Linked DNA regions of Homo sapiens: all the other regions are linked to region 2. Evidence: promoter capture Hi-C in human tissues and cell types (Jung and others, 2019). All regions are on one chromosome and are shown on one strand. Each heading gives the region's core, a stretch centred on a gene start or on the middle of the fragment in contact. The rest is flanking DNA. Distances are from core to core; before and after follow the strand shown. Region 1 has its middle 13 kb from the start of NRN1. Region 2 holds the start of F13A1 (coagulation factor XIII A chain). Region 3 has its middle 45 kb from the start of NRN1. Region 4 overlaps LY86 (lymphocyte antigen 86).

What was found. Contacts are between HindIII fragments. The study calls those that stand out against the background at their distance.
Region 1: a contact is called between a fragment that was not itself captured here and the fragment with the promoter of F13A1 in region 2, in 2 of the 25 tissues and cell types used here (dorsolateral prefrontal cortex and spleen).
Region 3: a contact is called between a fragment that was not itself captured here and the fragment with the promoter of F13A1 in region 2, in 1 of the 25 tissues and cell types used here (fat).
Region 4: a fragment that was not itself captured here is called in contact with the fragment with the promoter of F13A1 in region 2 in 1 of the 25 tissues and cell types used here (dorsolateral prefrontal cortex).

Annotation. Positions count from the first base shown.
Region 1 is chr6:6,018,319-6,021,224 of GRCh38, forward strand. No RefSeq gene overlaps it. Among named protein-coding and RNA genes, the nearest start is that of NRN1, 13 kb to the left of the region's middle. The HindIII fragment of the contact is 3,261 bases long and covers 1-2,906 here.
Region 2 is chr6:6,319,049-6,321,953 of GRCh38, forward strand. F13A1 (coagulation factor XIII A chain) reads right to left here and starts at 1,614. Exons shown (of 15, transcript NM_000129.4): 1 at 1,539-1,614. The region is part of intron 1 of LOC124901253 (a long non-coding RNA gene); the gene reads left to right. The HindIII fragment of the contact is 8,313 bases long and covers 1-2,905 here.
Region 3 is chr6:5,960,052-5,962,952 of GRCh38, forward strand. No RefSeq gene overlaps it. Among named protein-coding and RNA genes, the nearest start is that of NRN1, 45 kb to the right of the region's middle. The HindIII fragment of the contact is 6,226 bases long and covers 1-2,901 here.
Region 4 is chr6:6,614,463-6,617,611 of GRCh38, forward strand. The region is part of intron 1 of LY86 (lymphocyte antigen 86); the gene reads left to right. The region is part of intron 1 of LY86-AS1 (LY86 antisense RNA 1); the gene reads right to left. Among named protein-coding and RNA genes, the nearest start is that of LY86-AS1, 6.8 kb to the right of the region's middle. The HindIII fragment of the contact is 4,694 bases long and covers 1-3,149 here.

The DNA of each region.
Region 1 (2,906 bases), core at 290-2,789, 300 kb before region 2:
CAGAATTCTCTATATTCATCATATATATTTTCTACCCCAGGCCTAAAATCAGCTATTTTTCTAAGGAGCTCTCTTTCGTTTTATCGGAAAATGGTATTAGAAAACAGAATCTGGGCACTAAATGTGCTTGTTGCTGCTGAGGTATTGTTGCTTCTAGGCACTCTCAGCTGACTAAGCAAGGAAATACGTTAAATATATATGTGTATATACACATTTCCATCAGTAGCTTGCTATGTAACCGTCTATATCTGTATTAAGTTAAACAAGAGTTCATATGGATGTCTCCAACTCTAACCCATCACACACATTCTAGTCTCCTCCCCTTGCCTCACTGCTGTGTAACCTCCCACTCCAATAGTGGGAAATCTGGCTCCTGCCACCTGCCAGCCATTTACTTAATTGTTCAGTTACAGTACATGTGTATAGTGATTTCAGAATCATTAACCTGTTCCACTATGGGAAACAACTTTTTGGCTGAGTAAAGTGCTTCCGTGCAGTTCCTCTTGCCTTTAGTCTTATAGACTCCACTTAGTTCAAAGTCACTTCGGTCAGCACCTTTTCCCCTCACCCCCTTCAGTGAGGTTGTTTCGTACACTTGTAAGATAATTAGACTCTTTTGTCATATTCTGCATTCTGTCTTGGGATTCTTTGACCTCCTAAATGATTTTTAAAAATTTGCATACATTAAGGTTCATTCTTGGTGCTATAAAGTTCTATGTGTTTTGACAGATGCAAATTGGAATTGACTGACTTTGTACAGCTTCAGAATCCTTGAGAAAGGAAAACAACCTCAGCATAGCCGACTCTGCTCTCTAGGCACACTTGGAAAGCCTGGAAGCCCCCATGAAGCATTTAAAGCAGTTCTGCCCCCATGGAAATAGAATACGAACCATATATGTAATTTTACATTTTCTAGTAGCCATAAAGTGAAAAGTAAAAAAGATACAGGTGAGATTAATTCCAATAATGTATTTGATTTAACCCAATATATCAAAACTATTATTTCGATATGTAATAAATATAAAGACTTATTAATAAGTCCTGTTACCTTTTTGGTACTAAGTTTTCAAGACCAGTATGTATTTTACACTTCCGGCATATGGCAGTTTGGAATAGCCACATTTCAAGACTTCATTAGACACATGGTGGCTAGTGGCTACCATACTGGATAGTTTAAGACTTAAAAATACCCTTCTATTCAGGAGTTTTCTTTCAGATTGTGCTAAAAATGAGGCCCATAATTTAATTTTAAGGAACCACAGCTAGCAGAATGAATGCATAGACTTGATCAGTCTCTTATGTCCAAGTTAGGTTAGTAGTAGCCTAAGAGTAGTACCCTAACATCTGAGATAAAGACATTTGGGTGGATGAGCCCAATAATATTTACCATAAGATTACCCTGAACTCCCCAGGCCAGCAGAAGGATATCCCTTGCCCATGCCAGATGAGAACAGTGTTCCTTAAAAAACCTTGAAACCCTGCAAAACTCTCACCCAATGCAAGTGTACTACACGATGATGCTTATTCTCAACCTTTAGATGACTGTGGCTCAGCATTTCCCATCATCTCATTGCAGGTTGCTGAGCCCCTACCTTGCAGGCAGCCCTCTCATTTGTAGAGATGAGAGCCTGAAGGTTCCCACATTCACCTTTTCTAGTTATTTTACCTGCTGAATGACCTAATTATCAGTTTTCAGGAAATTTATTAAATTTGGAAACTCTTCTTTCTTTGCTTCAATGGAAGATGGTTTGACTTGATCATTTTATTTTACACCTAGAAGGTTTAAAAGTGGCATTTACAAAGTGGCTATTTGTCATTAGAGACTGAAAGCTTCACCTGCCCATCAAGACCCCATGGCCACACAAAGGAAAGAGCAACCAATTCTCCTGACAGAGCCTGTTTGGTGTCATCTTTCCTGCTCTTAAGGTTTTCTGTGAATTTTTAAAAAATAGGTTCAACTGATTCATCCTTTTGAATTATATCCTTTTATATATTATATGTGTGTGTGCGTGTGTGTGTGTGTGTGTGTGTGTGTGTATTTCCCAACTATAATTCTGAAAAATGCCATTTTAGACCCTATGCTGCTGAAACACTGAGATAACCCTTATTCTGAGATTAGCCTGGCCACAAATGCCAACAATTATTTTGTGAAGCTGGAAAGAAAGCTTGGCTTGCATTGAGGCAGCCACCACAAGGGCGTTCTGGCTCTAGCCCTGTCCCTGGTGTGAGGCTGGGTTGAGTAAAATCTTTACAAAAACTTTTTGGATAAATTTCCTTTCTTTCCAGAGGCTCCTGGTAATAAACTTTTGGAAGTTAATCTGTCTAGCCCTGAAAATGACAGGAAATTCAACCACACCGATCACAATCAATGAATTCCTGATCATTATGAATCATTCATTAACACAAAATGGAAATGATCACACTGTGGGTCACAGCTTGGAGTCAGACAGCCCAATGTGGGATTGAGTTTTGGCTTCCTCCCTAAATTTATTGGCTATGAAACATGGTCCAATTATATACTGTCTCTAGGCATTAGGTTCCTTACCTCTAAAGAGGGCATAAAGATATTACCGAATGGGGGTTGTTGAGAAAGTGTGATGTTGTATTGAAAGAGCTGATGGTAGGTGGCATGTATTGTACATGGAACTGAGAAGACAGTAAGCCTTCTCTCTACCCTCAGCCTTCAATTTTTAGACCACCGTGGTCTCCTCACTCAGGCGAACATTGTTGCAACACTTTTGGTCTCTCAGCTGCTCAATTCCCTGCTGGTTCCTCGGAGCTTGGTATTTTCAAGTCACTTCTCCCAAGCGGGTCAGGTCACTATGCAACTGGTGAGTTCTTAGGCTGGGTGATGGTCTTCTTTGTGTTTCCAGGCGCCTCCTGAGGTTGGCCTATATTGGACCTGT
Region 2 (2,905 bases), core at 364-2,863:
GTATCTATGTTCATTTCATACAGATTTATGAGATTATAAGTCACTTTTAAGAATAAACGCACACAACCATGTCCAGACAAATGTTGTCTTCTAAAGCGTTTACATTTGCAATTTAATTCAACCAATATTTATTGAGGGCCTATGACATGCCAGGCTGTGATCTAGGTACATGGGATACATCAGAGAACAAAACAGAATGTTTGCTCTGATAGATTATAGTCTGATAGGGTTAGGGTGGAGCCCAAGAAGAGCCATAAGTAAATCCACTTAGGGGTGAGGAGGTAGGAACTGCTTTGGAAATTGAGCCACATGGAGGAGGATAAGGAGGTGGAGAGGTTGGGCATGCAATTTTCAATAGGGCTATCAATAGGCTTAAGAAGTCAGGGTTGCCAACATTTCCCATTCCCCAAGCCTGCTTCCCCTTCCCTTGGAGCTTGTGCAGGCACTGAGCCAGTTTAAACAACACACACCTGACGGTCAGTGCCCAGTAAGTACTTGTTGACCAAATGACCAAATGAAGGGGGACTTTGTTTCTGGGCCCAGTGAAGGTTCCCCCTTGATCCCCTGGATTACCCAGTCATGACTCCTGGAGACTTGGCTATTTTCAAAAACCAGGCACACCCCCAAGAGGTGAAGAGTCCCCATTATAGAGGCCACCAGAGTAGAGAGATGGTTCCAGAGACATGTGGAGCACTAACAACATGCTGGAGAAAAGACAACCACGCCTAAGGTGTCTGGTCTGAGAAGGAGACAGGAGTGTTTGGATGCATAAGGTGTGAATGGGTATCCATAAGTATAGATAAATATATTTACAGTCATTGGTGAGCTGACGGGGGAAGGGAGGGAGAAGAGCGAAAAAGGGTTAATGATAGGGAGAAGGCTGCGAGAGCCATCCTCTAGTGAGAAATACCGAAGGTAGGCTGCGGCATTGCCAGGGGTGCAGAACAGTGTGGCGCGCTGTCGGGAGACACAGTGCTAAGGGGGAGAAGGGGGGAGCCCCAGGTGCACGCCTGGCTGGGTGAGTGCGGCGGGCAGGAGCCCTCGCTTCTGGGCGGGTCTAAGGAGGAGAAGTGGCTCGAGTTCAGCTCCAAATTGGGACGGAGGCAGGCGATGCGCAGGAGTGGGGAGGCGCGCAGGAGTGGGGAGCCAAGCCGGCGGGGTTCCAGTCTAGCAGGCTGTTCTCACTTGGCCCCACTCCCTCCACCTTTTGTGTTCCAGCTCCATAATCTGCTCCCTGAGGAAAGGGGGCTCGTCCCTTGGGGAAGCACCTCCAACTCCCCCATCCCCATTTGGTGGCATTCTAAGCAAGCAACGGCTTCGGGAGAGCTGCCTCGAGAGCCTGAGAGAAGTCCCGCTTAGAAGCTGGGCTGGGCAGGTGCGGAGTTGGGGGCGGGAAGCCAGGATTGGGCAAGTGGAGCTGCCTGTGACCGGCGCCACAGGGCCCAGAGCAAGCCGCTTGCTGGTTCAACCAGGAAACCGAGGTGCAGAAGGTGGACGCAGCGGGCCCTGGCTCATAGGGTGCAGGGTCGGTGGCTTACCTGCAGGCGCTCCCCTCCAGAGGTGCCCTCGCGTGGGCTTGCTCTGTGCGCCTCGGGGACTTCCTCAAACGGACTCGGGAAAGACAAGACAGTTGGCTCTTAAATAACTTCCTAAGAGGAGCCCTCACCCTCCTCCCCTGTCCCACAGGGTTTTCTCCTCCCCCTTCTCCACAGCTGGAGCCAGTAGGGGAGCTCAGAGGATTTTCTATTTACTTCATCTGGCCTGTTATCCCGGCAGGTGCGCCCTTCTCTCCCACTTGCCCCTCTGACTCCCAATTTCCCATTCCCACTTCTCCTCCCCATCCCCATCCCTAGATCTGCCCTCCCCACCGCAACCAGTTGCTGGGAGTACCAGGCAAGGGGCCCTGCAGTGCCAGGAAGTCCCCACCCGTCCCCTTTGGTCAGAGGGTCTGGGAGGGTTTCCTTTACAAAGGAATGCTTTTGCCTGGCAGGTCAGCTGCTACTGTGGCTTGGCAGGAGGGGGGTCTGCCCTCCCACAGACAGGTCACACAGACAGTTGTGACCATGCATGCAGTGAGAGCAACGTGTCCCTCCTGTGCAAATAAGGCATGGTCTGCATTCCTGAATCATCCCAGAGCCACAGCCACCGCCTAACCACAAGACTTCCTGCAGGAATGGGATGCCTAGCCCCAAGGAAGATGAGTAAACATCTTTAATAATGCCATGCAGATTAGAAAATAACACTTGGTTTTCTCTGAAAATCATTTTAGTGCATGTTCAAAAATTAGAAAATTTTCCCCCTAAAATTTTAATTTTTTTCTTTTACTCTTTCTTTCTTTCTTTCTTTCATCTTTCTATCTTTCAGATGAAGTCTTGCTCTGTTGCAAAGGCTGGAGTGCAACCTCCACCTCCCGGGTTCAAGTGATTCTTCTGCCTCAGCCTCCCAAGTAGCTGGAACTACAGGTGCATGCCACCATGCCCGCCTAATTTTTGTATTTTTAGTAGAGATGGGGCTTTACCATGTTGGCCAGGCTGGTCTCGAACTTCTGACCTCAGGTGATCCACCCTCCTTGGCTTCCCAAAGTGTTGGGATTACAGGCGTGAGCCACCGCACCCAGTCAAACATGGCTATTTCTAACCTTCTTTACTGTCTTCAAATTTCTGACCCTGCCACTCAATCTCCCAATGTTATAAAGAAGAAAAAAAAAGATGCCATTGGTTAGAAATTCTCTCAATTTTCTGCTACCAATCTATGAACCTGCCTGCAACCTTATCTATCTTTTCCTCTTTCTTCTTGTTACTGAAGTTGGAAAGGTCCCTCCTCCCTCTGCATCTCCAAACCAGGCTTCTGCGTTGCCTTGTTCTCCGGGGCTTTGCTGTGACTCTTACGTACTCTTCCTCTTGCA
Region 3 (2,901 bases), core at 198-2,697, 360 kb before region 2:
TTTTTTTCTCCCCCTGGGGAATTCCTTCTAGAACCTTCTCACTTGTCAGTTCCTGGATAATCCTTCCTTGATGGCCCCCACCCCTAGTTCCATTAGGAAGATCTAGGTCCCTCCTTATCCTTTCTCCACCTTTCCACTCCATAGCTGTATCATAATATGTACCACAGGACGTTGCAGCTCGCCGACCCTGGGGGCCCCTCTGACTGACTGTCAGTTCCTTCAGCGCAGGCTGTGTGCCTTGGCGCTTATCACAATATCTAGCTCCTCCACCTGGAATGAAAAGGTGAGTGAATACAACTTACAGTCAGCTTGAGAAAGTGAAGCTAAGGCACAGGGAAGCCAGGAGCCAACCTGCCCTAGGTCGAGCAGGGCTCCCACGGTGAGATTCCCCAGACTGAGCTGTAAGAAATCTGCCCATGAACCACATGAGCTCAAGTCCTTCCAGTGCTGTTTTGTTCTTGAAGCAGTGCATTTTGGGGCAGAGTAGAGGAGCAGATGCATCTCTTCCAAACCCCAACAGGACGGGGGCAAGGGCTGGACACATCCCAGAAACGAGAGGCATGTCATGCTCATGCTGTTCCATGTGGTGGCTCCAGAGATGGTGTTGCTGTGTGGCTCATGGTGACATGGCCCTGCCTGTCACTCTGTGGCCCCAAATGGCATGTACCCAATGACAGACGTGTATGTCAAACCACGAAAGACAGCAGCCTGGGGGAGCTTGGGGCAGCTTCAGCAGATCTGAAATAAGATGTCAAAATCGGCCCCTAGAAGCTGGGTATGTTTTTGGCCTCACCATCCTGCTCCTCCAGGAGTCAATTCTCAGCCAGCTCTGTGCCACCACACTGGTGGGCCACTCTGCTAGGCCTGGCAGGTGTGAGAAGGGCCTCAGAGCCTTGTGAAGGATCAGGACTTAAGACACCACATCCTTCAGTACCCTGCCGTCTTATCTGGATCCTCTGGGGGCTGACCTTAAGGGCGAGATGGTGGAAGAGGAACTGTCTACTTTGCAGTTACTCTACCCAAAGCTCCCTACACCTAGGAACCCCCTACACCTACACCTACACTCTGTGGCATCTTCCCTTCATAAGAGTAATTACCAGCACATTGCAGTGGCTGAAATTAACTGAGAACATACGTATCAGGATCTGTGCTAGGCTATTTATAGGATTATCTCATTTAATTATCACTATAATCTTATAGAGTAGGTGCTGTTTTTTTTTTTTTTTTTTGACGGAGTTTTACTCGTTGCCCAGGCTGGAGTGCAGTGGCATGATCTCGCTCTGGGATTACAGGCGTGAGCCACCGTGCCCTGCCGAGTAGGTGCTATTATTGCTTCTATTTTGAAGATGAGATGATCCAGTCTAAATTAGTCCAGTCCCTTGCCCATGTTTCCTCAACTAATGAGTGTTGAGGCAGGGACTCAGACACAAGCTTTAATGTGCTTTTAGCCACACGATACTGCATCATGCAAGACCTGGAGAGACCATGGGAGCAAGGACAAGCGGGATCAAATGGAGCCAAGCGACGCAAGGGTACCTGTGGGAGCCCCATCACAGGGGCCTCGTGTTCCTCCCTTGACCCGGACAATAAGAAACCAAAAGAAACTGGCTGGGACATTTCTCACTTCACTCCCTCAGACTGAGTGTAGGATCAGGCTCACATAAACAGAGTTCTCTTGGCTACTAAGAGGCACTATCTGAACTCAAAGAAGGAGTGTGTAACCATAACAACAATGATACAACCCGATCTCTTCCCCCATAGAAAGAAGAGAGCTTTATGTTAAAGAACTATTTATCTGAAATAACTATTGAACAGGATAGCTTACCATTGACATTCAACTTGGGCAGCAAAAAGCAAGTGGAAAAATTTGGTCGCTGAAATATTTTCCATGACCACCTGCCGTCTGGGTGTAGTATGCAAAGGGGACACCATGGGTCAGACAGTTCAGGCCCCCCACTGAGGAGCCATCAGGGCTGGGGTCAGTAGGTTTGCCATCTGTCAGCATCACTCCATTCTCTAAAACCCTTGGGAGGGTTGCCTTGTCACATCTGTTGAAAGCTATAGTCTCCTTCCTCTTGCACTGCCTCACTTACAATGTTAGTAAGCAAGCAATTTAAGAAGTGAATTATACTAATTTTGCTTATCCTTGAAGTGTGAAATTTTAGAAGATGGTGCCAAATGAATGATCATGTATATTTCTCAGTTCGTTCATGGCTTTTTTTAAAGTTTGTTCATTCTTAAAGACACTTCTATGCTGTGTAAATTTAACTAGAGATGAAAAATGGAAGTTGAAAACAATTGTAAAATTATCTAAAAGTACAGGTTTCAGATGCTGATAACCAGAAAAGTAATTTCTATGGACTTGAAACTATAGATCTTTTTGTCCACATACATTCTAGGCCTATCATTCATTACCTAAATAATATAAAAACCAGCTAGAATATCAGCTGCAACAAATTATCACAAATTTTACTTATGAAACAAGACTAAACAAAGTTGTCATTGAAGGCAGGGTGGGATCTCATTTCATTTGTGAATTTGAGACTAAAGCTAGTGCATGGATTGTAAAAACTGAATGTGGTCAAAGTGATCCCCGAAAATTATTTAATTACACCATAAAGAACAGTGTCTATGATATGACATACGCAACATGTATCAGGCAGCTATTGCTATGACTTTGCTGCATAACGAGTAACCGCCAACTCTCTGTAGAAAACAATTAAGCATAATATCACCCATGTGCCTGTGGGCCTCTGAGTCAGTTGCAGCATCTCTGTTCCTTGTGTTTCATTCCAGGGCCTGGGCTGGAGAGACATTGGCTATCCAGGGTGTATTCTTCCCATGGTCATGGCAGATGCACAAAAGTATGAGCCCAGTTCTGTTAGTGTGCTTTTAGCCTCT
Region 4 (3,149 bases), core at 308-2,807, 300 kb after region 2:
CTGCAGGCAGCCCAGGACTCCTGCGCATACCAGGCTCTCTGGTCTTGGCTCTCCCAGCCCCACGCCGCCCACTCACATCTGCCCAGCTCTGCTGTTCTTCCACGTTCTTCTCCACATTGGGAGTTTTTTGCAGGCGTGTCCTGTCTCATGCTCCCCATCCTCCGCTAGCTCTCCTTGCTCATCTCTTCAGCTTTGTTCTCTTTGTCCCTGAACTCTCATCTCAAATCTTTTCATGCCTAAGATCGTGCTTGGCAGAGAGTCGATGCTCAGGAAATGAAACAGAAAAAAAAAATGCTTTTAGGGGCTGTTGCAAGAATCCTACCTAAGCAGGGCCGTGCCTTTCTTGAAAGAATTCTTGAGAGTCGCTTGGGTAACTGCCAAGGTTCCAACTCCTCAGGACTGAGGCAGGGGAAACATGGTGTCCTGTAGAGACAGGAGCCAGAGACATGAAAAAAGAGGGAGAGGCCGGGAGCATCTCACCGGCTCATAAAGGGCTAAGCGGAGGCGGCTGCCTCTTAACGCTTCATAAATTCTGTACACCTTGTGAAATGGTTTGTAAGGAGATTTCTTAGGACATCTATGAAGGGGTTAAACTTTGAGCCGAGTGATACACGGTAGACGTAGGATCTCACGTTTAAGATCATATATCAGGAAATGAGCAAAAAAAACTTGGTGTGGCTTTTAACATTGGGTTTCAAACTAGGCAAGGCAAGAGAATCACCTGGGGAGCATTTGAAAACCAGGCAGCACCCAGACTTATTAAATCAGACTGTCTGGGGTGGAACTCAGGCATGGGTATTTTCACAGCACTCTCCTATTGATTTCAACGTGCAGCCACATTAAGAACCATCAGCAAAGAGCATCCCAACCATGAGGTTATGTTCCACCAATCCTGTTTAATCTCAAGGGCTGGGAGGCCCCAACTGACATCTAGGTTTCATCTCAGAAATATCTATTTAACTTAAAGCTTGGCTGAAGGCAGGCTGCGGTGGCTCACGCCTGTAATCCCAGCACTTTGGGAGGCCGAAACGGGTGGATCACTTGAGGTCAGGAGTTCAAGACCAGCCTGGCCAACATGGTGAAACCCCATCTCTACTAAAAATACAAAAATTAGCCCATGGTGGTGGCACACACCTGTAATGCCAGCTACTGGAGAGGCTGAGGCATGAGAATCCCTTGAGCCTGGGAGGTGGAGGTTGCAGTGAGCCAAGATTGTGCCATTGCACTCCAGCCTGGGTGACAGTGAGATGTTGTCTCAAAAAAAAAAAAAAAAAAAAGCTGGGCACAGGCACAGTGGACCACATCTGTAGTCCTAGCAGTTTGGGAGGCTGAGGTAGGAGGATCGCTTGAATCCAGGAGTTTGATACCAGCCTGGGCAGCAGAACCAGACCCTATCTCAAAAAATAATAATACAAAAAAGATGTATGAACTTAACTAAATTATTTTAAACCTAGGGTGTTCTTACATTAAAAAGAAAAATGTTAAAAAGAAGTTGGTTTCATTTTCTGCAACTGTAATGAGAATAGTCAATATTGTAATATCTTCTTTCTAATAGACTCCATCCTCCTTTTGCCCAATTATTAACTATCTATTATGTGCCTAGCACTGGCCAAGATGCTTTATATGCATTATTTTTCTTAATTCCTAATAAAACACTTCAGTGCATTTTCCTCTATCCCAGTTTCCTTTGGGTTGAGAAAAGCAGCACCTTCGCAGAGTGACAGTGACCTGCACAATCTCAGTGAAGAATTTTATCAAAATTGGGAAGCTTGTTGGGTCTTGTCCCTCTCTGTAAGCAACTTGAATCCTAGGAGGACCAGGTTCCGGCACACATATCTGGACTCGTTTCGCCTCCATCTAAAGCTCTGCTTCTGTCTTCTGTCTGCCTCGCTCATGTACTGCAGGGTGAGACCCGCACAGCAACCAGGGTGCAGTGCTGAGGGCCCTGGAGGCTGAGTCTGGAGATGTGAGGAAGTCACTTCCCTGCCTGAAATCTCAGTCTCTTCCTTAGCAAACAGGGATGTTACTAACACCCCATGCCCTGGCCACTCTCAAGACTAATGAGAGAATCAACAATTCAAATTGCATTTGAGGACCTCCTGGTACGTTTGGTTCAAATCCAGCACCATCAATGAGCAGACCAGGCTGGCCTCAGCTGTTACCTCCCAGCCAGTTTGTCAGTTCCTGCTCACCCATCCATCATATTCCACAACATCAGATGCCAAGGACAACAAACACCTTAGCTTTTTCTTTTAAATCATATCTAGTTCATGACTTCTAGAAGCAGAAGGGAATTCCTTTTCAGCATTTGCGGCATGTCAAGAAAAGTCCCAGAGATCATCTTTGCAGCTGTGCAGTCACGTAAACCACCCTGTGCATCTGGCCCTGTTTCTGTCCCCTGTCAAGAGACAGACAAATGCGTAAGAACCGCAGACATGAAATACAACAGGTGTATCCTGGTTGTGTGAGTGTCACCAGTGTCATGGTTCCCGCTGTCCCTAAGCCAGGCTCTCCCTTAGAAGGAGTGGTGAAATCCACATTGGCAGCGGAGAAGCATGTGCTAACGTCCAATCTTCCATTGTAAAAAGAGAGCAGACTAGCATTTATCCACTTTTCTATCCCACATGGACTGACTCCAAATTAGTAACAGAAAGTTGAACAATTACCAACACCAAGCCAAAGAGGCAAGTTCCCCTGATGCTTCTAGACTTGAGGAAGCCCTAGTAATCTGGTCGCTACTTAACCAATAGTAGGGCTCTGGGTGAACTGGCCTGGTCAAAATGCTCCTTTTCCACCTCAGTTCCACCACGGCTAGCACAGTGTCCAGCGCATATTAGACAGTTAAGAAACATATTGTAAGAAAGAAGAGTGACACTGTTATTAAGATGGTGTTTAAAATGAAGAGGGGCAGGCAAGGTAGTATAAAGTGAATCCGTGGGAAACATGCCTTGTCTACAGAAGACTATAAAATGTTGATGATAATGAGACTATAATGTGTTGACTATAAATGAGAGATTTAGAGTATATATAAAGTTTGCATGCATCTTTTGTTGAGTTTATTATTCAGTAGTGTGTTATCATAATCAGATGATGAAGTATTATACATACGATGATACCAGAAGCATTTCTGATTTGTCTATCCCCAAGAC